Regions from separate parts of the Homo sapiens genome. Here all the other regions are linked to region 2. Evidence: promoter capture Hi-C in 16 types of primary human blood cells and fetal thymus (Javierre and others, 2016). All regions are on one chromosome and are shown on one strand. Each heading gives the region's core, a stretch centred on a gene start or on the middle of the fragment in contact. The rest is flanking DNA. Distances are from core to core; before and after follow the strand shown.

Region 1 (3,089 bases), core at 307-2,806, 1.1 Mb after region 2:
AAGAAAAATCCATAGGTAGTCAATTTCAGGCAGTATTGGGTCTTTCTAAAGTCCAGTCATAGAGCCCAAATTAAGAGTTCCTACTGTAGACATATTATTTACTTTACAACTTGGATCCTTGGCCAGAGAGATGAGTGAGATTTTGTATGAAATTTAGGGGTGATTTAAGGACACTGGGGTGATGACAGAAGATGTGGTGTTTTCCTGTATCCTCGGCCAGGTGAAGCATCAGGGCCTGAACAAGAACATCAACCTGGACTCTGCGGATGGGATGCCAGTGGCAAGCACTGATCAGTGGAGTGAGCTGACCGAGGCAGAGCGACTCCAAGAGAACCTTCAAGCTTATCGTACCTTCCATGTTTTGTTGGCCAGGCTCTTAGAAGACCAGCAGGTGCATTTTACCCCAACCGAAGGTGACTTCCATCAAGCTATACATACCCTTCTTCTCCAAGTCGCTGCCTTTGCATACCAGATAGAGGAGTTAATGATACTCCTGGAATACAAGATCCCCCGCAATGAGGCTGATGGGATGCCTATTAATGTTGGAGATGGTGGTCTCTTTGAGAAGAAGCTGTGGGGCCTAAAGGTGCTGCAGGAGCTTTCACAGTGGACAGTAAGGTCCATCCATGACCTTCGTTTCATTTCTTCTCATCAGACTGGGATCCCAGCACGTGGGAGCCATTATATTGCTAACAACAAGAAAATGTAGCAGTTAGTCCCTTCTCTCTTCCTTGCTTTCTCTTCTAATGGAATATGCGTAGTTCCCTGGGGCCTCGCTTTCCCATCTTAAATTTCTAAAAACAGTTAAGACAACAGGCATTTTCTTTCTTTTTTCTCTGACCACCTGCAGCCTGTTGAAGGACTACAGGTATTTTCATCAAGTAGCGTTGGAGACATACACAAATGGGCATACAAGTTTAGCCTGGGGGGTGTGATTTGTGTGCGTGCTTGCATGTGCTGCAGGTGTAAGAGAGTGGGAGCAGGGACAACGTCCTTCCACTTCAGGGTTCTAACCTTTCTAACCCACTAAGTAACCTCTACAGGCATTTAACTGCCTTACAGACAGAATATACATATGTTAATTCTAGTCCTGGATGACTCGGTCTGAGAAGATTCAATTTAAAATCAGACTCTTTAGTTGATTTAAACTCTTAGAGAATAAGAATAATAATGGCTAACTTTTATTATCTTCTATATTAAGGCAGTATGCCAAGGGTCTTTATGTATATTATGTACAGCGTTTACAACCTTGTGAGCAAGGTGGTGTTACTCCCATTAGGTAGATGAGAAAACAGGCTCACAGAGATTTGGTTAAGCTCACACAGCTAACAAGTAGCACACTGAGTTTGAACACAGATCATTCTCCTTGTAAAAGCCTATGTGCCTTTCACTTTAGAGGCTTGATCATGAATCACTGCACCTCTTTGTCACAGGGTGTTGGAAGATGCATCCATGTAATCTATTCCCATCGCTGGAAAACAGCTGCTGTTAGATGTCCTCAGAAGTCAGTTGCAAATTTTAGCGTTAAAGTCAGGATTTATTGTTCATACTTGGCGGTGAGGAGGGCAGCTGGAGATCTTAAGATTCCATTTTGGAAAATGATTAGGCCCGCCAAACTTCTGAACTTTGGAAGCTGGGGATGTTTAGTAATACAGCCTGGTTTTTAAGTACTCACTAAAAGTTCTCAAATATTGGGTTGGGCACGGCTTATACCAGGTTACCTCACTTTTAATTAGTGATGCAGGCAGTGTAACCCAAGCATTTGTGGACAATGAGTGGAATACTAAAGTTAAAAAGTCAAACTTTCACCTCAGATTTTCTGGACTTAGTCATGAGGAGAGGGTGAGGCCCACTCTGTTCCTACTGGAGATACCAGAGACTCTGAAACTATAGAATAAAGCCTCTGTGCTGCACAACAAAGGGGCAGGCTCTGCTTTTATTTCTTGTAAGAACCAACATAGTATGAAAGGTTGGTCAATGCGGACATTAATGGAAAAGGCCATGTACTGGTGGTGTGATGTGAATCCAGAAATTTTCAAGTGTGTCATTTATTTTATACTTATCAATTAAAACTCAAGATCATGGATTGGGAGACCAAGTTAATTTAATTAACTGGGGCTTCTGTATTCGTAAATGAACCATGAGTCAGGGCTAACTCCCATAGGTTTCATGAGGTGTGGATGAGTAGCTTAGCTTGTATCCTTTCTCACATGGGTGTGTGTACAAAACTCCATGAAGTCACTATTACCAGAGTACTCTGGGCTAGGCATTGTAACAGTTCAGGGAAAGTAAGGCCCTGCTTTCTAATATGCATTTGTGGCAATATGGTTGTGAGTGTGTATACACACACACGTACATTACTGTGATCAGTGATGCAGACAGTGTAACCCAAGCCTTTGTGGACAGTGAGTGGAATACTACTCAAGTTAAAAAGTCACAGAACTCCTTCACCTCACATTCTCTGGACTTAGTCATGAGGAGAGGGTGAGGCCTACTCTGTTCTCACTGGAGATACCAGAGATTCTGTAAACACACAAACACACACACACACACACACACACACACATAGTCGAAATTATAAGTCCCAGGTTTGTTAGGAAGCTAAAGGAAGGAGAGGGGCCCAAAGTAGTTTCCCGGAGGAGGTAGGAGTTGTGTCTCAGTACAAAACTACAAAATACTCTGTACTGGTTGAGTACAAAAGAGAAGTCATGAGAGAAGGGAAGAGGTGATCATTTGTAATTTTGGCACTGAATGTATAGTCTTATTCCATTCAAGCTTTCTCTTAATTCTGCTTAACAGCAGCATTCTCAAATAATAAAATTTCTGCTTATTAATATGAAGCTCTTAGAGCTATCTGGATAATACTTCTGTTCAATGGAGAAATATGTCTACAATTTCTTAATGGGGAATAACTGACTATGAATTTGCTGCATCTAAAATGACCCCATCAATTATACATGTAAAAATAAATTTTTGAAATTTTTTAAATAAAAAATTAAAAGATGTTGCCCCCATACTCCCTCCATCAAAAATGTTTTTAAAAAATGAGTGTCCCCTCTCCAAGTGTTTTTATGTTCAGCAGGTACAGC
Region 2 (3,445 bases), core at 341-2,840:
TACCTGCATTCTGTTATGCAATGCTTACAATAACCCTAAGAGACATGTATCCCCATTTTACAGATGAGGAAATTAAGGCAAACAGAGGCTCAGTAATTTTCTAAGGATCACACAGAGCTGGGTTATGAAGCCAGGTCATCTGACCTCACAGTCTACACTTAAAAATCCTTCTAATTTATAGCCTTCAGGATAAACCAACCAATCAAGAGAGCTTAAGCCAATAAAAATAGCAGACATTTCACTAAGTGTTGGGCTTGAGGCTAAGGGCTTTCATATATTTTTAGATTTAATATTTATGATGTCCTATGAGGTAGGTATCATTATGTCTTCTTCATAATGAGGAAACCAATTGTCAAACAGTGCAAGTAACATGTCCAATTATACTGCTGGTGATTGGTGGAGCCAGGATTTGTTCCCAAATTTGCCAAATGGTTATGAGCACTAGTTGCAGAATCAGACTGAGGTGCTAGTTCTGGCATTGTTACTGACCAGCTGCCGACCCTAAGGAAGTTACTTAACCTCTAGAATCATCAATTTCCTCATTTTAAGACGGGACTAATAAAATTAACCCACTGGATTATTTTGAAGATTAACAAGTGCCTGACACAGAATAAAGGGTTTTAAAATGTTAACTACTAAATGGGCTGGCTATGTGCTATTTGTCAAGAGGCAAATACTCAGCTTTTCTTGGAACCTAACCAGAGCCTGGATTGGAGTTTCTCTTCCTGCTTGGCTCCTGCATTGCCAGTTCCATCCCCATCTAAATGCCCAACTCATTCTAGTGACCCTTTACTGCATCTACATTAGGATCAACCTTGAAGGTGGGTGTGGGGAGGGTAAGCATGGGCCTCAGGCTCCCCTACATTCAGGAAGGAATTTGTCATAAGTCATTCACCTTCGATAAGGGTGACCAAGACTTATTTTCCAAGACAGGGTAGCACATAGTTCTCTTTACCTGTTGTACATATCGGCCATCATCTCCACCTCCAGCTCCGCAGCCAGCTGTTGGGCCCTGAGAGGATCCATCTCAGCCTAGCACCGTGGAAGGGATCTCCTTCTGGCCTCCTAATCCTGGGAGCAGACATCACCATCAGCACCCACCGCCGCCGTTCACTCTCCTACCCCTGGGGCTAGAGGATACAGAGGACTCACAGGGCGCCAGACCACCACGGGCCACTAACCTCAGTGAGCTTAACCACCCCATTTCACGGATGTGGAAACTGAGGCCTAGCCCAAGGTCGCACAGGACGTCTATGGCGAGCCTGGAAATCGAGCCCCGGATCTCTGATGCCCCAGTTCCTGGAGGTCACCTCTATTCAGGAGATCGAGGACCGGAGGAGAACTCTCTAACCCACGAACCTGAACCTCCAGGGCCCTGGGAATGGGATCATACGCTGAACAGAGGCGACCGGGACCCAGCCCAAAGGCTACACCTCTGAAATGGCGACGCCATCATCAGGGCCACATTGAATTCAGAGGTCATGTGTCACTTACCACTGCCTGGGACGGATCACAATGCCCACGGAGACCCCAACTTCTGACAAATACTATAACGTTACCCGCCTCCCGAGAGGCTCCAGCGGAAGCACGTGGGTTACTTCCGGGAGGAAAGTCCCGCCTCTTCTTTGATTCAAACTCGCTTCCGGAATTAAATACCAACGAGACGGCGCCGGGAACTCGGCGATCATAGAGAGGGAGCGGCTGGCGCCGGGCGAAGAGGAAGGCGACTTGCCAGTGCTAGAGAGGACACCAAAGTACCATAGAAGCTTGGGCGGGGTGCAGAGCGTCTGCAGCCCGATCAGAATTCAAGTCCTTTGGGATGTCACCGAGCGGCTTCAGTTTATTGGTTCTGTAGGAAGAGGCGTGGCGACAGACACCTGTGAACCTCACCCCCGTTCCAGACAGCCGACTCCTGTGCGCAAATCAGGCGTGGAGAAGGAAGAACGCCCCCAAACAGCGGTTCTGTTTTTGTTTCGCGTTAAAATCACCTGGAACGTTTTTAAACATCCCAGTGCCCAGGACTCACCTCATTTCAATTAAATCAGAATCTCTGGGAGTACAGTTTAAAATTCCTCAGGCAGCAATACAATTTAAAATTCCCCAGGTGATTCGTATGTACAGCCAAATTTGAGAAGCAGTGCTCCACGGGACGTTGTGCGATTACTGCTGTGTGTAGGTCACACTAAGCCCCGTCTGGGGTTGCAAAGATAAGCGAGATAGGCTTCCTGTTCGCAGAAAGACAAGACGTGTAAAATATGTTTTCTTCAACAGTTAGAGGTCCTCAGCCACAAAGAGATAATAAAAGCAATTTCGGCTGCCACCAGGGCTAATCTTGGGTGAGGGAAAGAAGGGTACTGGTGAACTTTCCAACTTTCAAGACTTAATGTGTTCTTCAAACTGCACCATTCACTCATTCCCCACTAAAAAGAAGGAAACAAGGAAACAATACTCAGTCCCTTGATTTGTCACACAATTTCCTGGTAAAATAAATTTACAAGATGTAAATTAATGACGCAAGGGCACATTGCCCATTGGAAAAGGTGGGCTAGACATTTTCTGTGTGGTCATCATAAGCTTCCCTAATTGTCCAAGACCATCCTAATTTTAAACAATTGACCTTTCTACTGCTTTGAAGACTCATCTTTGCCAAACTTGTGCCCTGATTTTTAAAGATTGGGGTATAACATTCATAAAGTGCATAAAATACACGAATGTTAAGCTTAATTAAATATATATGTATCTATATATGTACATTTGTATAACCGCCATCCAGATCAAGATATAAAATACTTCCTGCACCCCAAAAAGTTATCTTGTGTTCCTTCCCCATCAATACCCCCTCTCGAAGTTAACCACTATTCTGACCTCTATCACCATCAATTAGTTTTCCTTGTTCTTGAACTTCGTGTAAATGGAATTATACATTATTTTCTATTTTGTGCCTGACTTCTTTAGCTCAATGTACCTGTAAGATTTCCTCCATATTGTTGTGTGCATCTGTTATTCCTTCTGTTTTATTGCTGTCTAGTGTTTGATTGTATGAGTATGCCACAATTCATCTATCCATTCTCCCGTTGGTGGATGTTTGGATTGTTTCCAGTTTTTGCCTATTATGCAATAATGCTGCTATGATACTCTTGTACAGATGGACATATCTTGCCTTGGTTTTTGCCTTTGAAAATATAGTCAACATTGGCCGGGTGCAGTGGCTCACGCCTGTAATCCCAGCACTTTGGGAGGCTGAGGTGGGTGGATCACCTGAGGTCAGGAGTTCGAGACCAGCCTGGCCAACTTGGTGAAACCCCATCTCTACTAAAAATACAAAAAAGTAGCCCGGTGTGGTGACGGGTGCTTGTAATCCCAGCTACTCAAGAGGCTAAGCAGGAGGCTAAGGCAGGAGAAACACTTGAACCCGGGAGGCAGAGGTTGCAGTGAGCCAAGATCG
Region 3 (3,462 bases), core at 700-3,199, 1.1 Mb after region 2:
ATGGCTTGTTCAAGGTCTGGGTTTGCATCCAGGTTTGTCTGAATCCAAAGCCTAGTGCTCTTTCAATGTAATGCTTCTTTCCAATCTCTATGTTTGCATTCTTTTATTAAAAAGTGTGATTGATTTATCATAAGGGAACCTGGGACTGGATTATTTGCTGGAGAGATGGCTGTCTTCTGGGAAACAAATCTTTTTTCCCTCTTGTTTCTTCCCAGGACAGGGATAAGTAATCATGCTGCTCAGTCCCCTAGCCTCCTGACCTGGGAACAAGTGCTTCATGGCATTATAAATTCAAAGGAGTCTGGGAATTCAGCATGTTTGGTTATATCTCTTTCCCAGAACCTGGCACCAGTCTGTGGGCATTTCATAGCTGTAGATACAAGTGAAAATAATCATGCTTTGGCTGAATGGTGGTGAATCATTTGCTGACAAGGACAAGATACCAACAGGAGGAGGGCAAGGAAAACTCTCTGAGGATGTTTTGTTTTCAGCCCTGGGCAGCATTTGCTGAGCTGGGAGATTAGGAGGCATCATTTGGTGCCCAGTACTCACATCCCCCAATTGTTCAGAGGCAGTGTAAGGACGATGCAGGCAAGACAGTCTTCAGAGTCAGATGCCAAGTCCTCATGTGACCTTAGAAAAGAAGTGTGACTTCCTGTAAAACAGGAACAAACAGGACTTTTTAGCTGTTAACTTAAAAAAATTACAACACATGCTTGTTATGGAAAATTAAAAGTGTAAAGAGGTTATATAAGGTAAAAAATACCTTCTTCATCCAGCTGTGCTTCCCAGAGATAACCACTGTAAATAGGAGGTGTGTCACCTTCCAGACATGTTTCTATGTGTGCACACATGGACCCAGGCACATAGGCACATACTACTTTCTTTTACAAAAATATAATAGTGCCAGGCCATATATACTTTTGCCTATGGAGAAGCTGATTCCCAGAGAAAAGAAGTGATGTGCACAAGGTCACACAAAGACAGATTGGAGCAGAGATGGCCCTGACCCTGTGTCTCTTGCCTGTATTTCCAGACTCAGACCGCCTCCTACCCTGCCTCACTCTCTTGGGCTGTGTGCATTCTAATTGAGCACCATAGGGGATACAAATGCAGACAATTATTCTGGCAGATAGTCAAGGGCAATAGTCAAAATATTTACTACTCTGCAAGTTGCAGCCCCAGCCAATCAGAACTAACATTGGCTGCAAATGACCTTCCTGAGGTTACTGGCTAAATATTGGCCCTGCATGTAGGAGTCTCATTTCACACCCTACATATCTCTCCACGGATGGCTGGGAAGGAATCCATGAATGAATAAATGAGGATGCAAAGTGATCTGAAATAATATCGCAAAGGAAGAAAAACTTCTTTCAATAGAAGTGTAATGTTATCAACTGCAGTGTTATCTGCCTATATATTTTTACAATCAGAGCCCTGTGAAAGGAGAAGAGGCAATAATAGAAAATGAAGGAAATAGAAAGGAGATGTTTATTGGAGTTCAACAGAACTGGACTCGAGATATGGCTCTGCGCTTAGTGGCTCTCAGACCCTGGGCAAGTGACTTAATCTCCTTGACTTTTTTTTTTTTTTTCCTGTAAACATCTGTGAATGTGAGGAGGAGAGGCACAAAAAGTAACTTAACCATGATTATACTAATTAAGGGACAGATAGGCTGAGGGGTCTGAGGGACTTTTAGTCTAGTGGGCTTATAATTTAATGTCAGGGGTAGCCCAGGGATCCTGAATTTTGCCAACAGAAAAATCATGAGATCTATGCAGATTTGGACACAGGACTTTATTTCTCATAAAGGGTTATAGCCTGCCAATGGTCATCCTGACAGGCTGAGAAGTGTACCTTCAACAGAGACCGAAAGGCAGTACTTTGAAGAAGGAGGGGTTGAGGCAGGAGCTTTATGCTACATAGGTTGGCTAAATATACATATTCAACAGGTTACAGGAGAAGCTATGAATATTCACCAAGTGGTTTCTGATGCATGCATACTGAATAAACATGCATGCTACAAATGATCTATGTTCATATTGGAGAGGGTACTTAACATTTAAATTTATTACAATGAGGCTGTCTATATTTCAGAAGATAAAACAGGGACATAAATGTTCTCAAGTGCAAAGCCTCTATAAAACCGACCAGAACCAGTCCATAGTCGGTGGTCTTTTACCAGGAAAGTTACTGAAATCTCTTTCTTGTCTAATCAAAGCTGTAGTTATGGCTTGTGGAACAGGAGGTCGGTTAGTCAGCACATGGTGGTGAATGAGCTGCAGTTATTTTAATATTGCTTTCCTTGAGGCCAGTGCTTGTTGAGCTGCTTAAGAAAGAAAAACCTTGTGGCAGTTAAAACAAAGTTTATTCTTTAAGTGTAGGGGTGCGTGACTTAACCTTTGCCTGACATGGGCGTAGGTCCTGTTTATAATTGGATATCTTACTGCCACAAAGAGTCTGTTCTGTCAGTCATATGATCTCTATTTTAACATTCATGCTGGTCAGTTGGTGTGTCTGTATACAAAAGGGAGAGGATATAACGAGGCTTGTGTGATCTCTTGTCTCCTTATGGCCAGGAACTCCATTTTTAAGGTTTCTCTGAGGTCTCCTTGGCCAAGAGAGAGTCTGTTCAATTGGTTGGGGTGGGTGCTTAAGGTTTAAATTTTAGTTCTCAATCCCATATAGGGTCTTGAGACCTTTCTCATCCTCGATTCAATCTGAGGGCAATTCTGAGTTAAATCTCCAAATAACTTCTATTCTCTCCTTGTGCACCTCATCTCTACCCCAACATACACAGGAGAAGATCACCTGAACAATAAACTTGTAGGTTTAAAGAAACTACTAGGCACCTGGCAATCCCTTGCTTCCTGCAGTCTTCCTGTCTTTCTTGAGATACTTTTTCTTAAGGATTTCTCATGGGTCTGCCTCACTTGACAATGGATATATATACTCTCAGTATTTAGCGTGGAGAAGACCCAGACTCATGAAAGAGATGCAGAGAACTAGCAGGGAGAGACAGAGACAGAGACAGAGAAAAGCCATGACTAGCATCACTAAATTAACCATGTCCTCGAGACTCATAATTCATACCATCGTTATATGTTCTCTAGGTAATTTCTGCAACCTTCCAACAAGTATTCCCATCTCCTGAAGGACAGCTGGGATCATGGCAAACTCTGAGACAAAAACCTGCAGTGGCTCGTTGTTTATAGCATTGGCTCCCAATTAAGCCTGTTAAAAATAGAGGTTTTGGGTTTCAATGTATGGAACTTTAGAAGACGAGTTCTGAGAACTAAAACTATCTACGCCCTACAGAGCTTCTACATCAACGTGACATTACTATAACACTGTCTTCACTAGCATAACTTTACCATTCCAGTGACCGTTACATGGAAAAATGGCTCGATTATTCATTATAGGAATTTCCCAAAATATCCATCAACTCTTCAATGAAAAGTA
Region 4 (3,386 bases), core at 39-2,538, 1.6 Mb after region 2:
CCTTTTTCTTTATAAATTACCCAGTCTCAGGTATTTCTTCATAGTAGTATGAAAATGGACTAATACAGTAAATTGGTATCACAGAGAGTGGGGTGCTGCTGTAAACATACCTGAAAATGTGGAAGCAACTTTGGAACTGGGTAACAGGCAGAGGTTGGAAAAGGTTAGGGGGCTCAGAAGAAGACAGGAAAATGTGGGAAAGTTTGGAACTTCATAGAGACTTGTCGAATGCCTTTGCCCAAAATGTGATAGTGATACCGACAATAAATTCCAGGCTGACATGGTCTCAGACAGAGATGAGGAACTTGGGCACTGGGGCAAAGGTCATTCTTGCTATGCTTTAGCAAAGAGGCTGGTGGCATTTTGCCCCACCCTAGAGATCTGTGGAACTTTGAACTTGAGAGAGATGATTTAGGGTATCTGGAAGAAGAAATTTCTAAGCACCAAAGCATTCAAGATGTGACTTGGGTACTCTTAAAAGCATTCAGTTTTAGTCATTCACAAAGATATCATTTGGAATTGGAACTTATGTTTAAAAGGGAAGCAGATCATAAAAGTTCAGAAAATTTGCAGCCCGTCGATGTGATAGAAGATAAAACCTCATTTTCTGAGGGTAAATTTAAGCCAGCTGCAGAAATCTGCATAAGTAACAAGGAGCCAAATGTTAATCACCAAGACAATGGGGAAAATGTCTCCAGAGCATGCCAGAGGTCTGCATGACAGCCCCTCCCATCACAGGCCCAGAGGCCTAGAAGGAAAAAGTGGTTTCATGGGCTAAACCCCAGGTCTTGCTGCTTTGTGCAGTCTTAGAACTTGGTGCCCTGTGTCCCAGCTGTGGCTAAAAGGGGCCAAGATATAGCTCAGGCCATTGACTCAGAGGGTGCAAGCCCCAAGCCTTGGTGCCTTACACATGGTGTTGGGCCTGCAGGTGAACAGAAGTAAAGAATTGAGGTTTGGGAACCTCCACCTAGATTTCACAGGATGTATGGAAACGCCTGGATATCCAGGCAGAAGTTTGCTGCAGGGGTGGAGCCCTCATGGAGAACCTCTGCTAGGGCAGTGCAGAAGGGAAATGTGAGGTGGTAGCCCCCACAGAGAGTCCCCCCGAGACACTGCCTAGTGTAGCTGTGAGAAGAGGGCCACCATCCTCCAAACGCCAGAATGGTAAATCCACCAACAGCTTGCACCATGCTCCTGGAAAAGCTTCATGCCAGACTGTGAGTTTGCCCAATGTCCATTTTCATGCCAGCTCATGAAAGCAGCCGGGGAAGGGGGAGTGGGCTGTACCCTGCAAAGCCACAGGGGCAGAGCTGCCCAGGACCATGGGAACCCACCTCTTGCATCAGTGTGACCTGGATGTGAGGCATATAGTCAAAGCTTATTTTGGAGCTTTAAGATTTGACTGCCCTGCTGGATTTTGGACTTGCATGGGGGCTGTGGCCCTTTTGTTTTGGCAATTTATCCCATTTGGAATGGGTATATTTACCCAAAGCCTCTACCCCCATTATATCTAGGAAGTAACTGACTTGCTTTTGATTTTACAGGCTCATAGGTGGAAGGGACTTGCCTTGTCTCAGATGAGACTCTGGATTTGGACTTTTGTATTAATGCTGCAATTAGTTAAGACTTTGGGAGACGGTTGGAAGGGGATGATTGTGTTTCGAATTGTAAGGACATGAGATTTGGGAGGGACCAGGGGTGGAATTATATGGTGTGGCTCTGTCCCCACCCAAATCTCATCTTGAATTGTAGCTCCCATAATCCCCATATGTCCTGGGAGGGACCCAGTGGGAGGTAATTGAATCATGGGGGTGGGTTTTTCCTGTGCTGTTCTTGTGATAGTGAATAAGTCTCACAAGACCTGATGGTTTTATAAAGGGCAGTTCCCCTGCACATGCTCTGTTGACTGCCATCATGTAAGACACGGCTTTCCTCCTCCTTCACCTTCCACCATGATTGTGAGGCCTCCTCTGCCATGTGGAACTGTGAGTACATTAAACCTCTTTTTCTTTATAAATTACTCAATCTCAGGTACTTCTTCATAGCAGTATGAAAATGGACTAATAAAAGTTCAAAGTTCCACCGATCTCTAGGTCAGGGGTAAAATGCCTCCAGTCTCTTTGCTAAAGCATAGCAAGAGTGACATTTGCTCCAGTTTCAAATAAGTTCCTCATCTCCATATAAGAACACCTCAGCCTGTACTTCGTTGTCCATATCACTCTCAGCATCTTGGTCAAAACCATTCAGCAAGTCTCTAGGAAGTTCCACACTTTCCCACATCTTCCTGTCTTCTGAGCCCTCCAAACTGTCCCAACTTCTTCCTGTTACCCAGTTCCGAAGTGGTTTCCACATTTTTAAGTATCTTTGTGGCAGTGCCCCAAACTCCTGGTACCAATTTCCTGTATTAATCTGTTTTTACACTGCTACAAAGAAATACCCAAAACTGGGTAATTTATAAAGGAAAGAGGTTTAATTCACTCACAGTTCCACATGGCTGGGGGGCCTCAGGAAACTTACAATCATGGAATTAGGGGAAGAAAATATGTCCTTCTTCACAGGGTGGCAGGAGAGATAAAAGTGTAGTGGGAATAGCCCCTTATAAAACCATCATATCTTATGAGAACTCACTATCATGAGAACAGCATGGGCAAAACTGTCCCCATGATCCAATCACCTCCCACCAGATTCCCCCCTTGACACTTGGGGGTTATTGGGATTAAAATTCAAGATGAGATTTGGGTGGGGACACAGAGCCAAACCATATCAGTATGGCTCTTACCTTAGGGAAACCTGACAGCTTGGAAGAGATGGCTGAGTAGCTGACCAGACATTTGAGTTCGAATCGTGAAGCTGAGGGAGGAAAAAGTCAGAGTTTAAAGCCTGTCAGCTAGTAGGAAACCTAATAAACACCACAGGATTTTGGATGGGTAAAAAGTTGTTGTACCCAAGGAATAAAAATGTTCCAGAAATATCTCAGCCTTCACAGGGACACAAGTCAATTTGAAATCACCTCAATCTAAATTAGGTTAATGTAATCTAGGACTACAAGTGACTCCCACCCAGCTGCTTGCAAAAATTAATGGTAAAGTCTCTTTGGAGGAAGGTTATATTATCTTTGGCTTCTAATTTTTTCTACAAGACAAAATTTCCTACAGAAAAATGAATGTCAATCTTTGACTTTTATAAAAAGGTAAGGAACTTTTATTGGCAAAATCAATCAAGAAAGATGGTAAAAATGTAGATTTAATAAGAAAAAATGTGACAGTATTCTATCCAATACTAAAATGGGAGTTACATATTTTAACTATAAGTATTTGCCTATAAGCCCATTCAAGGGCTTACAGTGCTCATGGAAGTGATCACCCTTCTTTCTTCATTTCTACCTG
Region 5 (3,471 bases), core at 425-2,924, 1.6 Mb after region 2:
GGGGGCGGCATGGGGAAGAGAGTTGTAATACAAATCTTGGCTATATCAAAGCAGTCTTTAATGAAAAACTATTGTAATATTTCTTGAATAACAACAAAAACTTCAATACAATATGTTACAGTAAACTATGTAATAAACCAAAATTAATACCATTTCATAGCATGAAAACATATACCATTCCAAACGTGGCTGATCTATTCAATTGTAATTATAACCTACATTTGAATATAGTTTATAAAACAATTTTTTTAATATATTTGTTCTTACCATAACCTTGTTAGGAAGTCAGGAAGGATTCTGACAAATCTTCAATTTGTTTATTGGAGAAGAGGGAGAAAGTGAGTTGTTGCTTAAGGCAGGAATGAAGTGAAGACTTGGAGTTAAGTTTAATGACATGTAGTTGGGCCTTTTTCTACTGATTGGGCTCTGTTATCATATCAAACCATTGTATCTTTCCCTGAGTCTAAAATTCTCCTTGAATTTATCAAGAAAAAAGTTGAGGAATGGTAAACATTTGAGTATGAAGCTTACAATTTCTCAACTTGTTTTGTTTTGTCCTGGTTCTGGAAAACTAGAATATCCAAGTATCTAAAAAGTCTAAGGCAAACTTAGTTATGTTTTTCTCTATCCTATTCCATGACAGAGCTAATTACTATATCCTATTCCTCTTCCCCTTTCAGAAGTGTCTATATCTGCCCAAGAATCATTTTAATAAATAGGAAATTTATTATAGTACTCTAATAGGGTGCATGACAAAGATGTTTCTGACAGCATTAGGCTGAAGGGATGCTCTTTGAGAGTTTATATGTGAGCCCAGGGTAAATCTGCATTACCTTAAGTCCCTTTTATTTATTTATTTTTGATCTGGAATATTAGTATAAAGAAGGAAAACAAATGTTAACATATTATGTGCTAGTCATTGTGCTAGGCATTGTCATACAATGATGCTACACTTAATCTTTACAATATTCCTAGCATTGTTATTCCCAGTAGTAGTAAGGGGCATTGCTGGCATACGGACCCATATCTGCTGGTACCCATGCCATGATGAATATGACTTGGGAAAAATGTGTTTTTTAGACATAGGAAACAGACACTCTAATTTTTCACTGAGTTTCTACTATTTGATTAAGCCTCTTTATTTAATTCCTCTCCCCACCTCCACCCCCGTTTCTTAAGATAATGCGCTACAAAAATGGCAATCATAAATATAAAGTTTACAAAAAAGAATGTATACACTAGTCCAGTGGAAAATATAATTGGACTGGGAATTGCAATTTTGATACTCACTTTATTTATTGGTTATTATGTGACCCTAGAAAAGACGTCTACAAGAAAAACTTTCTGTGCCTTAGTTTCTCCATCAAAAGGATAGATAAGTCATGTTTGTTCCTCCTTATTTTATAAACTTTGGGGATTAGTTGATGTAATAGAGAAAATAGAGTTCTTTTCATGATATATGCTGGGCAAATCAAAGTATTTATTGTTACAAATAACTACATTATAACCAAATGATTAGTTAAATAATGATTTTGTTTAATATGTAATGCTTATAATAAATTGCGGTAGCTTATCGCTGAATTCAGTATTTCAAGAACAATTTTTTTTTGCTGTAATTCATTATTGTCCTCAGGAAATATAAAAATTATATAGCTGAAGATAATAAACAAGTCCTGAAATAAAACTATTTCAAATACTAGTGGACTTTTTTTTTTTGAGATGGAGTTTCACTCTTGTTGCCCAGGCTGGAGTGCAATGGTGCTATCTCCGCTCACTGCAACCTCCACCTCCCAGGTTCAAGCATTTCTCCAGCCTCAGCCTCCCAAGTAGCTGAGATTACAGGCATGTGCCACCACACCCAGCTAATTTTTGTATTTTCAGTAGAGACGGGATTTCACCATGTTGATCATGCTGGTCTCAAACTCCTGACCTCAGGTGATCCACCCGCCTTGGCCTCCCAAAGTGCTGGAATTGCAGGTGGGAGCCACCATGCCCGGCCACTAGTGAACTTTTAAGAATCTCTGTTTTTGAGGCACCTGGGAAAAAATTTTTTCTTCCCTCATATTTTTCAGAAGAATGCACTAGTGTAGTGGTACCAAGAGTTTATCTGACAGAGGTTATAGGAAGCTCCGCTTTCATTTTGGATCCCATGTCAAACACTGATTTAATATTATTCACTGGCCCTTTTAGATTGGTTCTCAGTTTCTCATAGGAATTTTGTGAATTGCATACCTGAAAAGAGAAACAAAAGACTCGGGTTGCATTCAGAGTTTTAAAGTATCTAACATTTATTTTTAGGTCTCTAAAGAGCAACAGAATAATTGCAGTACTTCTCTAATGAGGATGGAGTCTAGAGGAGACCCAAGAGCCACAACTAATACCCAGGCTCAAAGATTCCATTCACCTAAGAAAAATCCAGAAGACCAGACCATGCCCCAAAATAGGACAATATATGTTACCTTGAAGGTAAACCACAGGAGAAACCAAGATATGAAACTTAAGCTCACACATAGTGAGAATAGTAGCTTATATATGGCTCTCAACACTCTCCAGGCTGTCAGAAAAGAGATAGAAACTCACCAAGGCCAAGAAATGCTTGTGCGTGGCACAGAAGGAATCAAAGAGTACATAAACCTTGGAATGCCCCTCAGTTGTTTCCCTGAAGGTGGCCAGGTGGTCATTACATTTTCCCAAAGTAAAAGTAAGCAGAAGGAAGATAACCACATATTTGGCAGGCAGGACAAAGCATCGACTGAATGTGTCAAATTTTACATTCATGCAATTGGAATTGGGAAGTGTAAAAGAAGGATTGTTAAATGTGGGAAGCTTCACAAAAAGGGGCGCAAACTCTGTGTTTATGCTTTCAAAGGAGAAACCATCAAGGATGCACTGTGCAAGGATGGCAGATTTCTTTCCTTTCTGGAGAATGATGATTGGAAACTCATTGAAAACAATGACACCATTTTAGAAAGCACCCAGCCAGTTGATGAATTAGAAGGCAGATACTTTCAGGTTGAGGTTGAGAAAAGAATGGTCCCCAGTGCAGCAGCTTCTCAGAATCCTGAGTCAGAGAAAAGAAACACCTGTGTGTTGAGAGAACAAATCGTGGCTCAGTACCCCAGTTTGAAAAGAGAAAGTGAAAAAATCATTGAAAACTTCAAGAAAAAAATGAAAGTAAAAAATGGGGAAACATTATTTGAATTGCATAGAACAACGTTTGGGAAAGTAACAAAAAATTCTTCTTCGATTAAAGTAGTGAAACTTCTTGTACGTCTCAGTGACTCAGTTGGGTACTTATTCTGGGACAGTGCAACTACGGGTTACGCCACCTGCTTTGTTTTTAAAGGATTGTTCATTTTAACTTGTCGGCATGTAATAGATAGCATTGTGGGAGACGGAATAGAGCCAAGTAAGTGGGCAACCATAATTGGTCAATGTGTAAGGGTGACATTTGGTTATGAAGAGCTAAAA
Region 6 (3,296 bases), core at 616-3,115, 1.1 Mb after region 2:
TTATTATTAGTTTTATGCCGGTAATACATTGTATTGATTACTGAAGCTTTATAGTAAGTGTTGAAATTGAGAAGAAAAAAGTGCGTCTTTAATTCTGTTTGTTTTCAAGATGGCTGTGACTAGTGTAGATCCCTTGCATTTTCCTGTGAACTTTAGGATTGGGTTGTCAATTTCTACCAAAAAGGAAGCTGGGGTTTTGATAAGAATTACAGTTAATCTGTGGGTTTATTTTCAGAGTATTGTCATCTTAACAATTTTTCAATATTTTATTCCTTTTTATTCTATTGTAAAGGTAATCATTTTCTTAATTTCCTTTTTGTTCATTGCTAATATACTTAAAACAATGAATGTTATATGTTGGTCATATATTCTGGCACTTTGAATAAAGGTAATAATTATTTTCTTAATTTCCTTTTTGTTCATTGCTAATATGCTTAAAACAATGAATGTTACGTGTTGGTATTATATTCTGGCCCTTCGAATTTGTATATGACCTTTAACAGTTTTCTTTTGTGAAAATTCTTTAGAATTTTCTATATGTAAGGTCTTTTCACCTGCAAATAGAGATACAGTTTTACTTCTTCCTTTTCACTTTGGGTGCCTCTTTTTTTACTTGAGTAATTACTTGGCTAGAACTTCCAGTACAGTGTTGAATGGAAGTGAAGAATGAGGGCATCCTTGTCTTGTTCCTGACCTTAGCAGGAGAGCTTTGTCTTTTACCACTGCGTATGATGTGAGCTCTGGGGTTTTTAAAGGTGTTCTTTGTCAAGTTGAGGAAGTTCAATTCTATTCCCAGTTTTTTGTGTGTTCTTATCATGAAAGTTTAATTTTGTCAGGTTCTTTTTCTTTTTTCTACATCAATTGAGATAATGGTGTGTTTTTTCCTCTCTTTATTAATGTGGGATATTACATATGTTTTTGTATATCGAACCACCCTCATAATCCTGGGACCTGTCTCAATTGATTATAGTGTTTAATCTTCTTAATATGATGCTATATTTGGTTTGCAAGGGATATTGGCTTATGGTTTTTTGTGGTGTCTTTGTCTGGCTTTGGTGTCAGAATAATGCTGTGTTTATAGGATGTGTTGGGAAGTGTTCCATCTTCTATTTTTTAAGAGAGTTTGAGGAAGACTGGAGTTAATTCTTTAAATGTGTGGTAGAATCAACCAATGAAACCATCTAGAGGCTTCTGGCCTTTTTATTGGGAGCTTTTTGTTTACTGACTCAGTTGTCTACTTGTTAAAGATATGTTCATCTTTTCCATTTCTTGTTGAATTGTTTTTGGTAATTTGTGTGTGCCTAAGAAGTTGTTGATTTCATCTATGTTATTTGTTGGCAAACAGTTGTTCATTGTGTTTTCTTATGTTTATTTCAGTGGTAGTGTCCCATTTTCATTTCTGGTTTTAGTAATTTGGGTCTTCTCTTATTAACCAAAAGTTTGTTGATTTTGTTATCTTGTCAAAGAACCAACTTATTTACTTTATTCTGCTAGCTTTGGGTTTACTCTGCTCCTTTTTTCCTAGCTCTTATGGGTATGATGTTAGGTTATTGATTCAGGCATGTGATTTTTTTTTTTTTCTATTTTAATGTAGGCATTTATATCTAGAAATTTTACTCTGAGAACTGCTTTCACTGCATCCCCTAGGTTTTGGGATATTTTGTTTTCATTTTCAGTCATCTCTAAGTATTTTGTAATTTTCCTTGTGATTTATTCTTTGATCCATTGGTTTAACAGTGTGTTAATTTTCATGTATTTGTGAGTTTTCTAGTTTTCCTTCTGATATTGATTTCTAGTTTCATTCAATTGTGGTCAGAGAGAACGTACTTTATATGACTGCAGCCATTTGAAATTTATTGAGACTTTTCAATATGTCTGTGAATTTTTTTTTTCCCCCAAGATGGAGTCTCGTTCTATCGCCCAGGCTGGAGTGCAGTGGTGTGATCTTGGCTCAATGCAACCTCCACCTCCTGGGTTCAAGCAGTTCTCCTGCCTCAGCGTCCTCGAGTAGCTGGGACTACAGACACACGCCACCATGCCCGGCTAATTTTTGTATTCTTAGTAGAGACAGGGTTTCGCCATGTTGGCCAGGCTGATCTCAAACTCCTGACCTCAGGTGATCTGCCTGCCTCAGCCTCCCAAAGTGTTGGGATTACAGGTGTGAGCCACTGCGCCTGGCCCAATATGTCTGTTTTTTAACATTATGTCTAATTTTGTCTAATATGTCTAATTTTTTAATTTTGCTTGAGTTCTGTATTTCCTTATCAAACTTCTGACTGGTGTTTGGTTCTGTTATTGAAAGTGGGATACAGATGTCTCCATTTTTGTGATTGTGGTATTACCTGTTTCTCTTCAGTTCTGTAAATCTTTGCTATGTATGTTATATGTTGATATATCTCGAGAGAGAGATGGGGGGAGAGGGAGAGGGGGCCTGTGTTAGCTATGTATAGGTTTATATTTATTATATTTTCTAGATTGATTGACCCTCTCATTAACGTATAATGTTCTTTGTGTTTTGTAACAGTTGTTGAAGTGCATTTTGCCTGATATTAGTAGGGCCACCTTTACGAGTTGAATTGCTTTCCTCAAAAGATGTTGAAGTCTTAACTCAGGTACCTGTGAATGGAACATTGAGAAATAGGGGCTTTGTAGTAAATAGGCTTTTGTGGTAATTTGTTATGGCAGCCCTAGGAAACTAATACATTTTGGTATTGGAAGTGGGCTATGAAAAAGTACCTAAAAATGTTGGCATAGCTTTGGGATTGGGTAATGGATATTGGCTTTGAGTATTTTGAGGTATGGTGCATGCCTCTAATCCCAGCTATACTCGGGAGGCTGAGGCAGGAGAATTGCTTGAACCTAGGAGGCGATGATTGCGGTGAGCCAAGATTGCGCCGTTGCACTCCAGCCTGGGCAACAAGAGTGAAACTCTGTCTCAAAAAAAAAGAAAAGAAAAAACAGCGTAGATTGCCTTGAAGAGATGGTCAACAGAAATATGAGTGTTAAAGGCAGTCTGATGAGGCCTTAGAAGGAAATGATGAACATGTTATTGGACAGTGGAGAAAAGGTGATCCTTGTTATAAAGTTGCAGAGAACTTGACTGAATTGTGTTCTATCATTGGGTAAGCAATGAACTTGGATATTTATCTGAGTAGATTTACAAACAACGTGTAGAAGGTATAGCCTTGTTTCTTCTTGCTTATATACTAATGTGTGAGAGGAAAGATATAAATTGAGGAATGAATTGTTTAGCAAAAAGGAGCCAGCACTTGATAATTTGAAAATTTTTTAGTCTG
Region 7 (3,218 bases), core at 692-3,191, 1.0 Mb after region 2:
TAAGCAAACTGAACTAAACTCTCGGGCAAATGAATAACTGTAATGGGAAAAAAGAGATGAGTGGGACCCTATGGCATTAAAAAGTTGAGAGACTTATAATAAATTTCAGTGTATGAACTTTATTTGGATCATTAAATCTACTGTAAAAATGAAACAATCAAGACTATTGAACACTGACTGGATATTAAATAATATCAAGTAAGTACTGTTTATTTTAGGTGTGATAATGATATTTAATAATATTAATTAATTCTGTTAAGTTTTTAGGTGTGATAATGGTATTTTACAATATTAAGGAATTAATATTAAGGCTGTTGTTATGGCAATGGCATTACAGTTATATGTATAAATATATATTTATTTTAGAGGTCAGTGTTAAAATAGTTACAGATAAAATGACATCTGAAATTGTTTTAACATAATTACAGGGGTGAAAGGAATGGGTGGGCATATATATGAAGTAAGACTGATGAAGAACTGATTGTTTCAACTGGTTGATGGGTATATCAGAATTCATTAAACTATTTTCTCTACTTTTGCATACTTAAATTTCTTTATAATAGAAGTTTTTTAAAAAGAAGGACAAATAGGCCGGGCATGGTGGCTCATGCCTGTAAATCCCAGCACTTTGAGAGGCCGAGGCGGGCGGATCGCCTGAGGTTGGGAGTTCGAGACCAGCCTGACCAACATGGAGAAAACCCGTCTCTACTAAAAACACAAAATTAGCCAGGCATGGCGGCACATGTCTGCAATCCCAGCTACTCAGGAAGGCTGAGGCAGGCGAAACGCTTGAACCTGGGAAGCAGAGGTTGCGGTGAGCCGAGACCGTGCCATTGCACTCCAGCCTGGGCAACAAGAGCAAAACTCCGTCTCAAAAAAAAAAAAAAAGAAAAGAAAAGAAAGAAAAAGAAAAGAAAACTAAGGTAGAAAAAGAAAGAAAACTTTTTGCCTCAGATTTTTATTAGCCAGACCCCACACCAAATTTGAGAATTTTGAATTTTTATTCTACATCTTTCAATTATGCTAGAGCCCCTTTCTTTTCTATTTTCTAAGCTTTGCTCTAACTAGAAGCCAAAGATCCTCCTGAGCTCAAAATAAAAAGCCATTTACAATAAAGATTATAAGAGAGAAGAAACCATACCACAAAGAGTAGGAAGTTGCCCTCAGAAGCACCAGCTAACCAAAGTTATCAAAACCCTTCTTTCTGGGTCATGAGTTATAGGCTTTTCTCTTCCTGTTTCATATGAGTGTGCATATCACCAACACTGTGAGGTTATTATGCCTTTTGCCAGATTTTGTAATTTGAAGATGACTAATTTCAGTATGACAAATATGGGATTCCTGGAGAGTGGGGGCGGGGGAAGTGGGGACTAGACTGAAGACTCCATAATTCTTCTCTGTAGTCTTTTACTGTGGAGATGAAATAATATCAATATTAACATGAAAGGAGTAAAGTGAGGTCTCTTGGGAGTCTCTGAGGGTTGCATGGATTTCATTCGGAGGCAGAATCTGCTCCTGGTTCCTCTTTATCTATCATGCCTAATGCCTACGTAATGAGGGTTTAGGTAAAACCTTCTGGGTGTATACAAGCTGCTAGCCTCTGAGGCACCACTGCAGACAGGAAATATTTGCTCACTTGAGCCAACCTGTCCTCGATGCCATTTCTCTGCCAGCAGGAAGAAAGATCCACACCAAGTCTCAAGGGTAGTTACTGGGCTGATGACAATTTGAAGAAACTGTTGAAGTGTAGCCATCAACAGCCTGTGGAGACGTAGCCAACTGGATAATCTGCACAAATATTAGCTTCCAGGCTACTTGGTACTTTCTGTATTTCCAGACAAGATTTACCTAACATTTAGCCTGCTCAGGAGATGCAAAACAATATAAGTTTCTGTTAAATCTGGGTTACTTCATTGGACAGACACCAGAACCAATAAACTTCTAAAATAGGAGAGCACCTTGTTGCTTAGTTTTGGTGTCAGGTGTTCCCGACAGTGACATTGAAAAAGTTATTTTGTTTTTCTTAGTTTTCTCATCTGAAAAAGAAGTGGATAACACCTATTTCAGAGGGTTGCTGCAGACACTAAAATGATTAACATATGTAAAAATGTCTAGTTTTTGCTTGATTTACTAAATAAGTATTAGTTTCCTTTTGAATTATTTGCCATGAAAGCCTTTCGGTGTCCCCTCCATCCCCCCCAAAAAAAAGAAAGAGAAAAAGAAAAAAGGCCCTAGCACTACTAGAACTCAAGCAGAAATTCACATTCTCCCAGCACTCACGTAGGATAAGAAATAGAATTCTACCCCAAGTCCAAAAAAGAGTCTGGCCCAATATCAAAATAGACTTTACCTCCAAAGCAGTTTGATATTTATTAAACACTACCTTTTTCTCTTCATTAACATCTCTTGCCTCCTGGTAATTTGCCCTTTACTTTTCCTCTGTTTCTCCAGCTTTGAAATCACACGCCATTTTTTTTAAGACAATGTAACAATGTGCAAGATATTTTTTGTTGTTGTTTTTTGCACTTTTGACATACCCTATCCCCAAACACACCCCAAACCAGGACACTGTGGAATTAATACAGTTTGGAAATTGGGTATAGTTTAGTGACTCAGTGTTAGTTAAGATGCTGGCAACAGATGTTGGCAAAGGCTATGGAATGAGTCCCAAGAATGACAAACCTTACATTACTCCAAAGGTTTGAAATCCAGGATTTCTCTGGTTAATATGGTTAATAGTTCCACTGCTGGTTTTAATTGTCTTAGAGTGGAAGGAGGTGTCATATTTTCAGGCCCTAGTAATCTCTTCCTTCAGAATTCTTCTGAATAAAAAGCTTAGCAACAAAATCACTAGAGTTAGAGTGCTATGCCTTCTTGATTTAATACTAAAACATGGAACAAATGAAACCACTCTGGCCTTTTTCCAACCTCTACAGATCCCTCATTCTTATACTTCTAGTCCGTCTTTTCTTCCTCATAACACCCCAATTCCCTTTTTGCTCTTTCTTTTCCTCCTCAAATCATATCTCTGCATTGTCTCGCTATGTGGCCACCCTTGATCTCCAGTGACCTCCAAAGGGCAAAACGCCCATAACAAGACAACAACTGCAGTAACAATCCAGTCCAAAAGTATTTGCCAAGAGTTTATTCCGCGGTTAGCACCAAACTCTCCATCTATTTTGCCACTGCAAACAGTGAACCCATAGTTCCCCAAAACA

Evidence for each region. The method cuts DNA at HindIII sites, captures the fragments that hold promoters and counts their contacts. A CHiCAGO score of 5 or more calls a contact.
Region 1: a contact is called between a fragment that was not itself captured here and the fragment with the promoter of TIMM10 in region 2, in 2 of 17 cell types (total CD4 T cells and activated CD4 T cells). The highest score is 6.1, in total CD4 T cells.
Region 3: a contact is called between a fragment that was not itself captured here and the fragment with the promoter of TIMM10 in region 2, in 6 of 17 cell types (activated CD4 T cells, naive CD8 T cells, naive CD4 T cells and 3 more). The highest score is 10.2, in activated CD4 T cells.
Region 4: a fragment that was not itself captured here is called in contact with the fragment with the promoter of TIMM10 in region 2 in 1 of 17 cell types (total CD8 T cells); the score reaches 5.7 in total CD8 T cells.
Region 5: a fragment that was not itself captured here is called in contact with the fragment with the promoter of TIMM10 in region 2 in 2 of 17 cell types (naive CD4 T cells and non-activated CD4 T cells); the score reaches 9.1 in naive CD4 T cells.
Region 6: a contact is called between a fragment that was not itself captured here and the fragment with the promoter of TIMM10 in region 2, in 3 of 17 cell types (erythroblasts, total CD8 T cells and naive CD8 T cells). The highest score is 9.6, in erythroblasts.
Region 7: a fragment that was not itself captured here is called in contact with the fragment with the promoter of TIMM10 in region 2 in 14 of 17 cell types (naive CD4 T cells, naive CD8 T cells, total CD4 T cells and 11 more); the score reaches 33.5 in naive CD4 T cells.

What each region holds. Positions count from the first base shown.
Region 1 is chr11:58,623,814-58,626,902 of GRCh38, forward strand. CNTF (ciliary neurotrophic factor) reads left to right here. Exons shown (of 2, transcript NM_000614.4): 2 at 221-1,920. The coding sequence ends at 709. ZFP91-CNTF (ZFP91-CNTF readthrough (NMD candidate)) reads left to right here. Exons shown (of 13, transcript NR_024091.1): 13 at 221-1,920. Among named protein-coding and RNA genes, the nearest start is that of CNTF, 2.7 kb to the left of the region's middle. The HindIII fragment of the contact is 2,434 bases long and covers 340-2,773 here.
Region 2 is chr11:57,529,164-57,532,608 of GRCh38, forward strand. It overlaps TIMM10 (translocase of inner mitochondrial membrane 10), which reads right to left and starts at 1,591. Exons shown (of 3, transcript NM_012456.3): 1 at 1,495-1,591; 2 at 956-1,071. The coding sequence starts at 1,026. RefSeq lists an enhancer at 1,591-1,770. The HindIII fragment of the contact is 3,024 bases long and covers 1-1,764 here.
Region 3 is chr11:58,640,022-58,643,483 of GRCh38, forward strand. No RefSeq gene overlaps it. Among named protein-coding and RNA genes, the nearest start is that of CNTF, 19 kb to the left of the region's middle. The HindIII fragment of the contact is 4,055 bases long and covers 1-3,462 here.
Region 4 is chr11:59,130,800-59,134,185 of GRCh38, forward strand. FAM111A-DT (FAM111A divergent transcript) reads right to left here. Exons shown (of 4, transcript NR_110184.1): 4 at 3,173-3,386. Among named protein-coding and RNA genes, the nearest start is that of FAM111A-DT, 10 kb to the right of the region's middle. The HindIII fragment of the contact is 174 bases long and covers 1,202-1,375 here.
Region 5 is chr11:59,149,452-59,152,922 of GRCh38, forward strand. FAM111A (FAM111 trypsin like peptidase A) reads left to right here. Exons shown (of 6, transcript NM_001312909.2): 6 at 2,299-3,471. Among named protein-coding and RNA genes, the nearest start is that of FAM111A, 8.3 kb to the left of the region's middle. RefSeq lists an enhancer at 3,132-3,261. The HindIII fragment of the contact is 2,300 bases long and covers 525-2,824 here.
Region 6 is chr11:58,600,043-58,603,338 of GRCh38, forward strand. The region is part of intron 2 of ZFP91 (ZFP91 zinc finger protein, atypical E3 ubiquitin ligase); the gene reads left to right. All of the region lies in intron 2 of ZFP91-CNTF (ZFP91-CNTF readthrough (NMD candidate)), which reads left to right. Among named protein-coding and RNA genes, the nearest start is that of CNTF, 21 kb to the right of the region's middle. The HindIII fragment of the contact is 3,643 bases long and covers 45-3,296 here.
Region 7 is chr11:58,572,374-58,575,591 of GRCh38, forward strand. All of the region lies in intron 1 of LPXN (leupaxin), which reads right to left. Among named protein-coding and RNA genes, the nearest start is that of LPXN, 1.9 kb to the right of the region's middle. The HindIII fragment of the contact is 1,781 bases long and covers 1,052-2,832 here.